Linked DNA regions of Homo sapiens: region 1 is linked to region 2. Evidence: promoter capture Hi-C in 16 types of primary human blood cells and fetal thymus (Javierre and others, 2016). All regions are on one chromosome and are shown on one strand. The core of a region is centred on a gene start or on the middle of the fragment in contact, and the rest is flanking DNA. Distances in the headings are between cores, read along the strand shown. Region 1 overlaps BCL7A (BAF chromatin remodeling complex subunit BCL7A). Region 2 holds the start of DIABLO (diablo IAP-binding mitochondrial protein).

What was found. Contacts are between HindIII fragments. The CHiCAGO score rates a contact against its expected background, and 5 or more counts as called.
Region 1: a contact is called between a fragment that was not itself captured here and the fragment with the promoter of DIABLO in region 2, in 1 of 17 cell types (endothelial precursors). The highest score is 6.9, in endothelial precursors.

The regions. Positions count from the first base shown.
Region 1 is chr12:122,049,707-122,054,116 of GRCh38, reverse strand. All of the region lies in intron 4 of BCL7A (BAF chromatin remodeling complex subunit BCL7A), which reads right to left. Among named protein-coding and RNA genes, the nearest start is that of LINC02985, 11 kb to the left of the region's middle. The HindIII fragment of the contact is 5,355 bases long and covers 480-4,410 here.
Region 2 is chr12:122,223,607-122,227,927 of GRCh38, reverse strand. DIABLO (diablo IAP-binding mitochondrial protein) reads left to right here and starts at 1,876. Exons shown (of 6, transcript NM_001371333.1): 1 at 1,876-1,963; 2 at 3,284-3,416. The coding sequence starts at 1,914. LOC128125816 reads left to right here and starts at 1,364. Exons shown (of 1, transcript NM_001414998.1): 1 at 1,364-1,498. The coding sequence starts at 1,364. The coding sequence ends at 1,498. It overlaps LOC101593348 (a long non-coding RNA gene), which reads right to left and starts at 1,486. Exons shown (of 1, transcript NR_103497.1): 1 at 1-1,486. RefSeq lists enhancers at 1-730, 731-1,562, 1,512-1,806, 1,860-2,099, 2,110-2,159 and 1 more and a silencer at 1,430-1,569. The HindIII fragment of the contact is 3,750 bases long and covers 22-3,771 here.

The sequences.
Region 1 (4,410 bases), core at 1,908-4,407, 180 kb after region 2:
CGAAACTCCGTCTCAAAATAATAACAATAATAAGGGTATTTTTCCGATTGCCAGAGCAATGACTGACCATTGCAGGAAACAGAAAAGTACAGAAAAAATAAAGTTAAAAATCACCTGTCACCACCCAGGGACCACCCCACTAATGTTTTAGAGGATTAATTCCCGTCTTTCCAGTTTCCCCTCCCTCCATGCGTACAAATTTTCTCCTCTTCCCAAATGGGGGTCATGTGGTATTTCGGAGGAATTCTTCATGTCTTTAAAGGTTCTTTAAATATCACAGCTTACAAGATGGCCGCACACCATTCCATCAAGGAATCGCCAGTAGAATGAACCCAGTTATTCGGGTGATTTCTCATGCCTGTCTTCCTGCTGCTCCACCCCAAGTTTTCTTTAGCAGAAGGAAGGTGCAGGCTGGATGGGGCGGGGGGGTGGGTGCAGCTTGGGAGGAGGCAGTGGCGGCAGCGGTTTTTCCTAAAGCTTACTGGACACAGAGCCAGACACTCGTGAAGGGGCAGCAAAAATCCTACCCGAGGCCCGGACACCATGGTACCCTGATGTTAAAAAGCACACACGAAACGAATCCTAGAGAATGCCTGTGCGACCAAGACTTCCCTGCTGGGGTTTCTGAGGCAGAGTAATAACAAAGGGGAAAATAACCCATGCTTAAGTTTAAAAGCAAGCAGGCAAGATGGGAAGAAGAAGGAGACAGTGCAGGGCCTGGGACAGGCCGGGACACAGAGGGCGGGGGAACGGGACAGCAAGACCCTCCTTCCCAGGGAGTCTGAGCAGGGTTGACACTTACTTCTCAGACTAGGAGCCCTGGCCGGGCGCGGCGGCTCACGCCTATAATCCCACCACTTTGGGAGGCCAAGGCAGGCGGATCACTTGAAGTCAGGAGTTCAAGACCAGCCTGGCCAACATGGTGAAACCCCGTCTCTACTAAAAATACAAAAATTAGCCAGGCATGGTGGTGCACGCCTGTAATCCCAGTTACTCGGAGGCTGAGGCAGGAGAATCGTTTGAACCCAGGACCACCTCCTGGATTGGGAGCCGAGATCATGCCACGGCACTCCAGCCTGGGCGACAGAGTAAGACTGTCTCAAAAAACGACAACAACAACAAAAACAGGCTAGGCACGGTGGCTCACGCCTGTAATCCCAGCACTTTGGGAGGCTAAGGTGGGTGGATCGGCTGAGGTCAGGAGTTTGAGACCAGCCTGGCCAACATGGCAAACCCCCCCCCCCCCCCGACTAAAAAAATACAAAAGTAAGCCAGGCGTGGTGTCGCGCGCCTGTAATCCCAGCTACTTGGGAGGCTGAGGCAGGAGAATCCCATAAACCCAGGAGGCGGAGGTTCCAGTGAGACAAGATCATGCCACTGCACTCCAGCCTGGGTGACAGAGTGAGACTCTGTCTCCAAAACAAAACAAAACAAAAAACAAAACAATAAAAAAACAAAAAGAAAGAAAACATTATGCTGAGTGAGAAGTCAGACACAAAAGGCCACAGAGTATATGATTCCATTTATATGAAAAGTCCAGAATAGGCAAACCCATGGAGACAGAAAGTTTCGTGGTTGCCCTGGGCAGGGACCCAGTGTTGCTGGGGAAGGGAGAAGTGGAGAATGATTGCGGCTGGGTGCAAGGTTTCTTTCTGGGGTGATTAAAATGTTTTGGAACCAGATAGAAGTGGTGGTTGCACAACCTTGTGAGTGTACTGTCAGTGAATTATTCACTTAACCTGGTTAATTTTATGTGAATTTCATCTCAATAAAAAGAAAAATCACCCAGGTGTAGTTGCTCACACCTGTACTCCCAACACTTTGGAAGGCCAAGGTGGGAAGATAGCTTGAGCTCAGGAGTTTGTGAACAGCCTGGGAAATATAGTGAAATCTCATCTCTAGTTTATTTATTTTTTTTTTTTAAAAGAGAGGGGCCAGGCCAGGCCAGGCGTGGTGGCTCACACCTGTAATCCCAGCATTTTGGGAGACCAAGGCAGGCAGATCACTTGAGGTCAAGAGTTCAAGACCAGCCTGGCCAACATGGTGAAACCCCGTCTCTACTAAAAATATAAAAAGTAGCTGGGTGTGATGGCAGGTGCCTGTAATCTCAGCTACTCGGGTGGCTGAGGCAGGAGAATCGCTTGACCCCAGGAGGCGGAGGTTGCAGTGAGCGGAAAATCGCACCACTGCACTCCAGCCTGGGTGACAGAGTGAGACTTTGTCTCAAAAAAAAAAAAAAAAAAAAAAAAAGAGAGAGAGAGAAATCATGTTATTGTTATACTCTATTTCATAATAAATGTTTGCTTTAACATAAATATTTAAAGTTTTTACTAGAAAAGTTGCCCATCTGTGGCTTTGGATCTGACCACAGCTCCTTTTCTGCCGGGCACAGCAGGCTCTGCAGAGTGGTGGGGGAGGTGGGTGCCCCAGATGTAGGCTTAGAAATCATGAAGGTGGCCAGTCACCCAGAGACTCACGCTGACCCGTGCTGGGCAGAGAGGTGCCCGGCAGAGGCCTCTCCTGAGAGCCAGGCCCTAGAGCTTGGTGGGAACTGGCCTTGGAACCCACAGAGCATTCAGGAGCTCAGGGCAGCAGCCGATTCTCTGGGCGCTGCGGTGCTGGAACTCACCCAGGGAAAATTATTTTCCTGGGACCTAAATTTAGTCCAGGGAGCTTGGACAGGAATTATGTCATTCCCTGAACTCACACAGCAGTAAACAAGTTCAAAGCAAGGTCAACAGCTGGTGGCCGACCTGCCCCATCCCGGCAGACAGCACGCACCCACCTGGGAAGGCCACACGGGTCTGTCCTTGTGCCCTTCCCACGGGCAGCTCGGGCAGCAGGCAGGTGGATCCTGGCTGAGCAGTGCAGGGCAGCCGTGCAGGCCCAGGGGCCTGGGGTGGCCAGAGAGGACCCTGGTGGAGGTCCCACCTGCGTCCCACCAATTTAGCATCTGGTGGTAGTGGCGAGAAAGTAGCAACCAACTGGACACACTAACTCAAAACATAATTCCTGCTGCGGAGCTCAAATCGGGCTTCTAGAGCAAAGGAGACACACACCCCCAACGTGGGAGAAACAAGGCCACGGCCAGAAAGAAACCAGGATGGGAAAGAAGCAGGAACGCGGCTGCACACGAAGCCCATGTCCGTCCTTGGGAACCCCGCAATCGCTCCCCCGACAGAAGGGTGGACAAGGCAACCCTGCAGCTCCCAGACCCTCCTCCTAAGCCCCAGCTCCAGGCCGAGCACTTTGCTGGCGTTCTCGCCCCCTTCGCTCCCGGCGAGGGAGGCAGCTTCTGTTTATCCCATTTTATTTTCTGCTGAGACAGGGTCTCGCTCTGTCGCCCAAGCTGGAGTGCAGTGGCACGATCATGGCTCACTGCAGCCTCCACCTCCCAGGCTCAAGTGATCCTCCCACCTTAGCCTCCCGAGTAGCTGGTCATCCCATTTTACAAACAAGGAAGTAGGAGGGTGTGTGGAGGTGATGTTCCTGCCCAGGCCCACACAGCTGGTGAGTGTCCCCCTGTATGTGACCACAGCCCCCGTCTCACCCCCTCTGCCTTCTACCTGCAGAACCACCTTCCAGGGAAGCCTGGTGGGCATGCTGGGATCACGGGGGCCATGAGGGGAGATGAGAGGGGACGACACATACTGTACGCAGCGAAGGCTATGGCAAAGCCGCTAGGGCACTGGCTCTCAGCAGGGGGTGATTTTACCCCTGCCCCTATCCTGGGGACATTGGTTAACAACTGGAAACATTTTGGTGGAGGCCAGAGATGCTGCTCAATGTCCCACAATGCACAGGATGGCCCCCCCCCCACAATAAAGAAGGATCCAAGACTGGTTGTGGTGGCTCACGCCTGTAATCCCAACACTTTGGAGGCTGAGGCGGGTGGATCACCTGAGGTCAGGAGTTTGAGACCAGCCTGGCCAACATGGTGAAACCCTGTCTCTGCTAAAAATACAAAAATGAACCAGGTGTGATGGCAAATGCACGCCTGTAGTCCCAGCTACTCGTGAGGCTGAGGCAGAAGAATCAGTTGAACCCGGGAGGCAGAGAGGTTGCAATGAGCCCAGATTGCATCACTGCACTCCGCCCTGGGTGACACAGCGAGACTCCGTCTCAGAAAAACAAAAAGAATGATCCGTCTCCAAATGCCAGGGGTGCTGAGGCTGAGAACCCCTGTGCTAGTGGTGTCATCCTACCCATGACTTCTCGGGGGGAAAAGCCAGGCAGAACCTGTGACATTCTGAGTGCATATGCAGCCTCTGACTAAACGGTTCCACTTCCAGGGACGCAGCCTGCAGAGCCACCTGCACCTGGGCAAAAGTGAAGAGAGATGAGGGTACCAGACCCCCCGCAGGACTGCATGTGCAAAACAAAAGACGGGAACACCTAAGTGACCATCAC
Region 2 (4,321 bases), core at 627-3,126:
GAGATCTCGGTCACTTAAGCTTGGTTCTCACACCCGTGCATGCTTGCACTTGCATGTTTTTTAAGACAACAGCTTTTGCTTTAGTAGTTGGGCGGTCGCAAGTGAACACTGTCCAGTGGTTCTTCTGGTGCCCAGACTCGGAGGAGATGGGACTGCTCTCAATGTGTTTGTTAGAAACGAAACTGTTCGCACTATAACCCCATAACCCCTTACAATGTTCAGAAAAAAACAAGAAGGGGCTTGAAATACCCACTAGTGTGCCGCCTGCTCAGCCCATCTGGGTCTGTGAAACCACATCTGAGCCCTGTGGGCTGTGGTGGCGACACAGGCAGAGGGCGGGCAGGGTTGCCAGCGCCCCGCCTGGGCTAGGAACGCCTGTGCGCAGCTCCCTGAGAGCTCGGGGACCACGCGGAGGTTGTAATTGGTCTCTAGACCACACCTAGTTGTTGAGTGCCGCTGCTTGAAAATCTCAGTTCTGCCGAGATCGCAGAATACACACAAGCTACCTTTGGGCACCAGAGCAGACAGAACCGCGGAGCTTCAGGGTGGAAGATTCGTGGAAACTTTGCCAAGTAAGTGAGGTGGGGAGAGAAGGAAGCCAGTGCCTGACACTGTGGGGAGTGGCTGGGCAAAGCAGCATTGGAGGTGTTGTAGGGTTCCTACTGTCTGATGAGCTGGTGTGGGGTTCTTACTGTCTGATGTCGTCTCTGGTGGAAGTTAGCAGGGCTGGGGCAGATGCACAGAGCACGGTGGCGGGGGTGAGCCCAGGATCGGATTGATGCCCACCCACCACCTGGCACCCTGCAGTCCCAGCTGGCCAGAAGGCAAGCATGCTGGACCACAAAGCAAAGATCCTCCAGCTCTGCTGCTGGCAAGCCTTGGGGCCAGGGGACTCACAGAAGAGCAGGTTTGGGCCTGTGCCTTCCTCCTGCCCAAATGGGTCTCTCTCCCCTTCCCCTTCCAGCCAGGGCCGCAGCTGGGGCTGCAGCTTGAGTGACGGGAAAAGAAAGGTTTACTCCACCAGCGCATTAGCGGCACTCACAGCATTAAAAATGCAGGAGGTGGTGGGAGGAGCGGGCCAGGGAGGAAAACTCATGCAGCTGCGGGGCGCGGGGAAGAGCCGGGCTTCTGCCTCCTCAGCCCGGATCAGAGCCGAAGAACGAGGGCAGTTTGGGTTGAGAAGGATTCTCCAGTGTAACCGAGAAGCGAGCGTCCAGGAGGCTGTTGGGGAGGTCGGCACTGTGGGCTTCCTGGCCTTCGTTTGCTGTTTCGAGGGCCAGGACCTCGTGTGTTCCCGTCCGCCCCTCTGGGACGGCGCCAGCCCGGCAGGCCGCCGACCGTCCTGGGGCTCCCGCGCAGCGCGATGCCGGCCTCGTCCACCGTCCACGTGCTGCAGCTGCTGCGGGAGCTGCTCGCCTTCGTGCTCCTCAGCTACACGGTGCTCATCGGGGCGCTGCTGCTGGCCGGCTGGACCACTTACTTCCTGGTGCTGAAGTGACAGCGCCGTCGCCGCGCCCGGCCCCGCCTCCCGCCCGGCCCCGCCTCCCGCCCGGCCCCGCCTCCCTAACTCACCAGGAAATTCCCTTCAAGCCCTGGCCCGAACTGAGTCCCCGCCCACCCGCCAGCGTCACGGCGCCCGACTCAGCTCCGCGCCGGACCCACCTCCGCGCCCTCAGGCCCTGCATATGCCCCGCCCCGCGCGGAAGTTCCGGCGGTTGGTTGCCTTGCGCGGCCGTTACAGCCTTTGCCCTAAGCCTCGCCCCCTTTCCCCCTGCCTGCCCAATCCCGACTGCTTCCTTGGGTGGGGGCGTGGCTATGGGGCGAGGCGCTCTCAGGTGGAGGCCGTGCCCCGCTCCGCGCTCACGAAGCTGCGTCACTTCCGGCGTGTGCGTCTGGCGTCCGCGCGCTGCACAATGGCGGCTCTGAAGAGTTGGCTGTCGCGCAGCGTAACTTCATTCTTCAGGTACCGCTGCGGCCGCGTAGAGGGGACAGGACCAGAGGGAGGGACCGACGCGGACAGCGCTGTGGCCCGGCCCACGGCGCCCGCCTTCCTTACGCGCTCATCTCTCGTCCGCCCAGCTGGGTCGCGGCGTCTCGCTCCGGTCGGGAGGACTGAGGACAGCCCCGCCTCCGCCCCCTGGGTCAAGCCCGGCTTCCTTTTCAGTTCGTCCATCTTCTAGAAACGAGTCCCCGAGACCCCGGGCTGCCTTCTTGGGGCTGCTCCGCCTCCTGACCAGCCCTCGTCAGCCACTCGAAGTCCCTGAGGAGACGTGGAGAGGAGGAGGGACACGGCATGGGGGGAGTCCGGGAAGGGAGACGAGCGTCTGAAGACGTCCTCCCGAGGGCAGAAGGGGCCGGGGGAGCTGGCGCAGGGCTCTCTACCTAGCGCTGCAGGCTCCTGGGCGATTGTAGCGGGACCGTCACACACAACTGGCACCCAGGCCAGGGGTCCAGAGCTAAATTCTGCCTGCAGGAGCGGTTATTGTGGCATCCGTTTCTAAAAAGTTTAAAGGCAACATTTTATTTTATTTTAATTTTTTTGAGACAAGATCTGCCTCTGTCGCCCAGGCTGGAGTGCAGTGGCGAGATCTCAGCTCACTGCAACCTGTGCCTCCCGGCTTCAAGCGATTCTCAGCCTCAGCCTCCCGAGTAGCTGGGATTGCAGGCGCCCGCCACCACGCCCGGCTAATTTTTTTTTTTCTTTTTGTTTTGTTTGAGACTCAGTCTCGCTCTGTTGCCCAGGCTGAAGTGCAGTGGGGCGCTCTCGGCTCACTGCAACCTCTGCCTCCCAGGTTCAAGCGATTCTCCTGCCTCAGCCTCCCGAGTAGCTGGGATTACAGGAGCGTGCCACCACTCCGGGCTAATTTTTGTGTTTTAAGTAGAGATGGGGTTTCACCATGTTGGTCAGGCAGATTTCGAATTCCTGACCTCAAGTGATCCACCCGCCTCGGCCTTTATTTACTTATTTTTTTTTAATAGACACGGGGTCATGTTGCCAGCCATGTTGCCCAGGCTGGTCGTGAACTCCTGGGCTCAAGTGATCCTCCCGCCTTGCCCTTGGCCTTCCAAGTGCTAGGATTACAGGCGTGAGCCACCAACACCCTGCCTGAGGCAACATTTTAAACTTGGTGTATGTTGAAAATTTCAAAACCCCTCAGCTGTCCTGCATCCTCATTTAGGTTCCTGCTTGGCTCGAGTTTGAGTTTACAGCCCCTGCAAGTAAATCCAAGAGCCTGTTACAGATTGGCGGTCGTGCCTTATGAAATCTGACTTCTACTTCCAGGTACAGACAGTGTTTGTGTGTTCCTGTTGTGGCTAACTTTAAGAAGCGGTGTTTCTCAGAATTGATAAGACCATGGCACAAAACTGTGACGATTGGCTTTGGAGTAACCCTGTGTGCGGTTCCTATTGCACAGGTACTGTCGTGTGCAGTGATTCTTATCTAGTGTACCGTGTCCTCTTGAAGTCTCAAGTGGGCGGTGAAGCATTAGACAAGCTACCATAGTTTTTCCCAGTGCTCCCATCCCTTCCCCCACAGTACCGGCATCTTTTCACAGTTGAGCAGATATATTAATATTCTCATTTTGATTATCTCATTTGGTAGGAACAGCACATCAAATTGTATAAAGCGAGTAGAGAGAAATAAGAGGATATTACAGTCTATCAACAAAGTAGTCTTTGATTCAACAGAAATTTATTGAGCAACTTTTATGTGCAAGACACTGAGAATGTAAGAATGAACAACAAAAAATTCTTGTTCTCACAAAAGCTTTGTGGAGATGAAAGAGGATAAAATATAAAATATCAGCTGGTGATAAATGGTGGGAAGAAAACAGGGCCGGGCACAGTGGCTGATGCCCAGGGCTTTGGGAGGCTGAGGTGGGAGGATGGCTTGAGCTCAGGAGTTTGAGACCAGCCTAGTCAACATAGGGAGACTCTGTCTCTACAAAACAGAAAAATTTAGCCGGGTGTGGTGGCTCACACTTCTAGTGGCAACTACTCAGGAGGCTGAGGCAGGAAGATCACTTGAGCCCAGGAGTTTGAGGCTGCAGTGAGCTATGATCTCACCACTGCTCTCCAGCCTGGGTGACAGGGCAAGACCTTTTCTCAAAAACAAAACAAAACAAATGAGGTAAGTGAATAGGCAATTCTGGGAGGGAGTTTTGTTTTAGATAAAGGTGGTCAAGCTACTCTGATAAGGCGAAGTAGAGATCTGAATGTTCTGAAAGAGCCATTATACTATCTGGTGCGGGGAGGAGCTTGCCAGGCAGAAGGAACTCAGAAGGACAAAGACCTAGAAGCAGAAGTATGCCTGGTATGT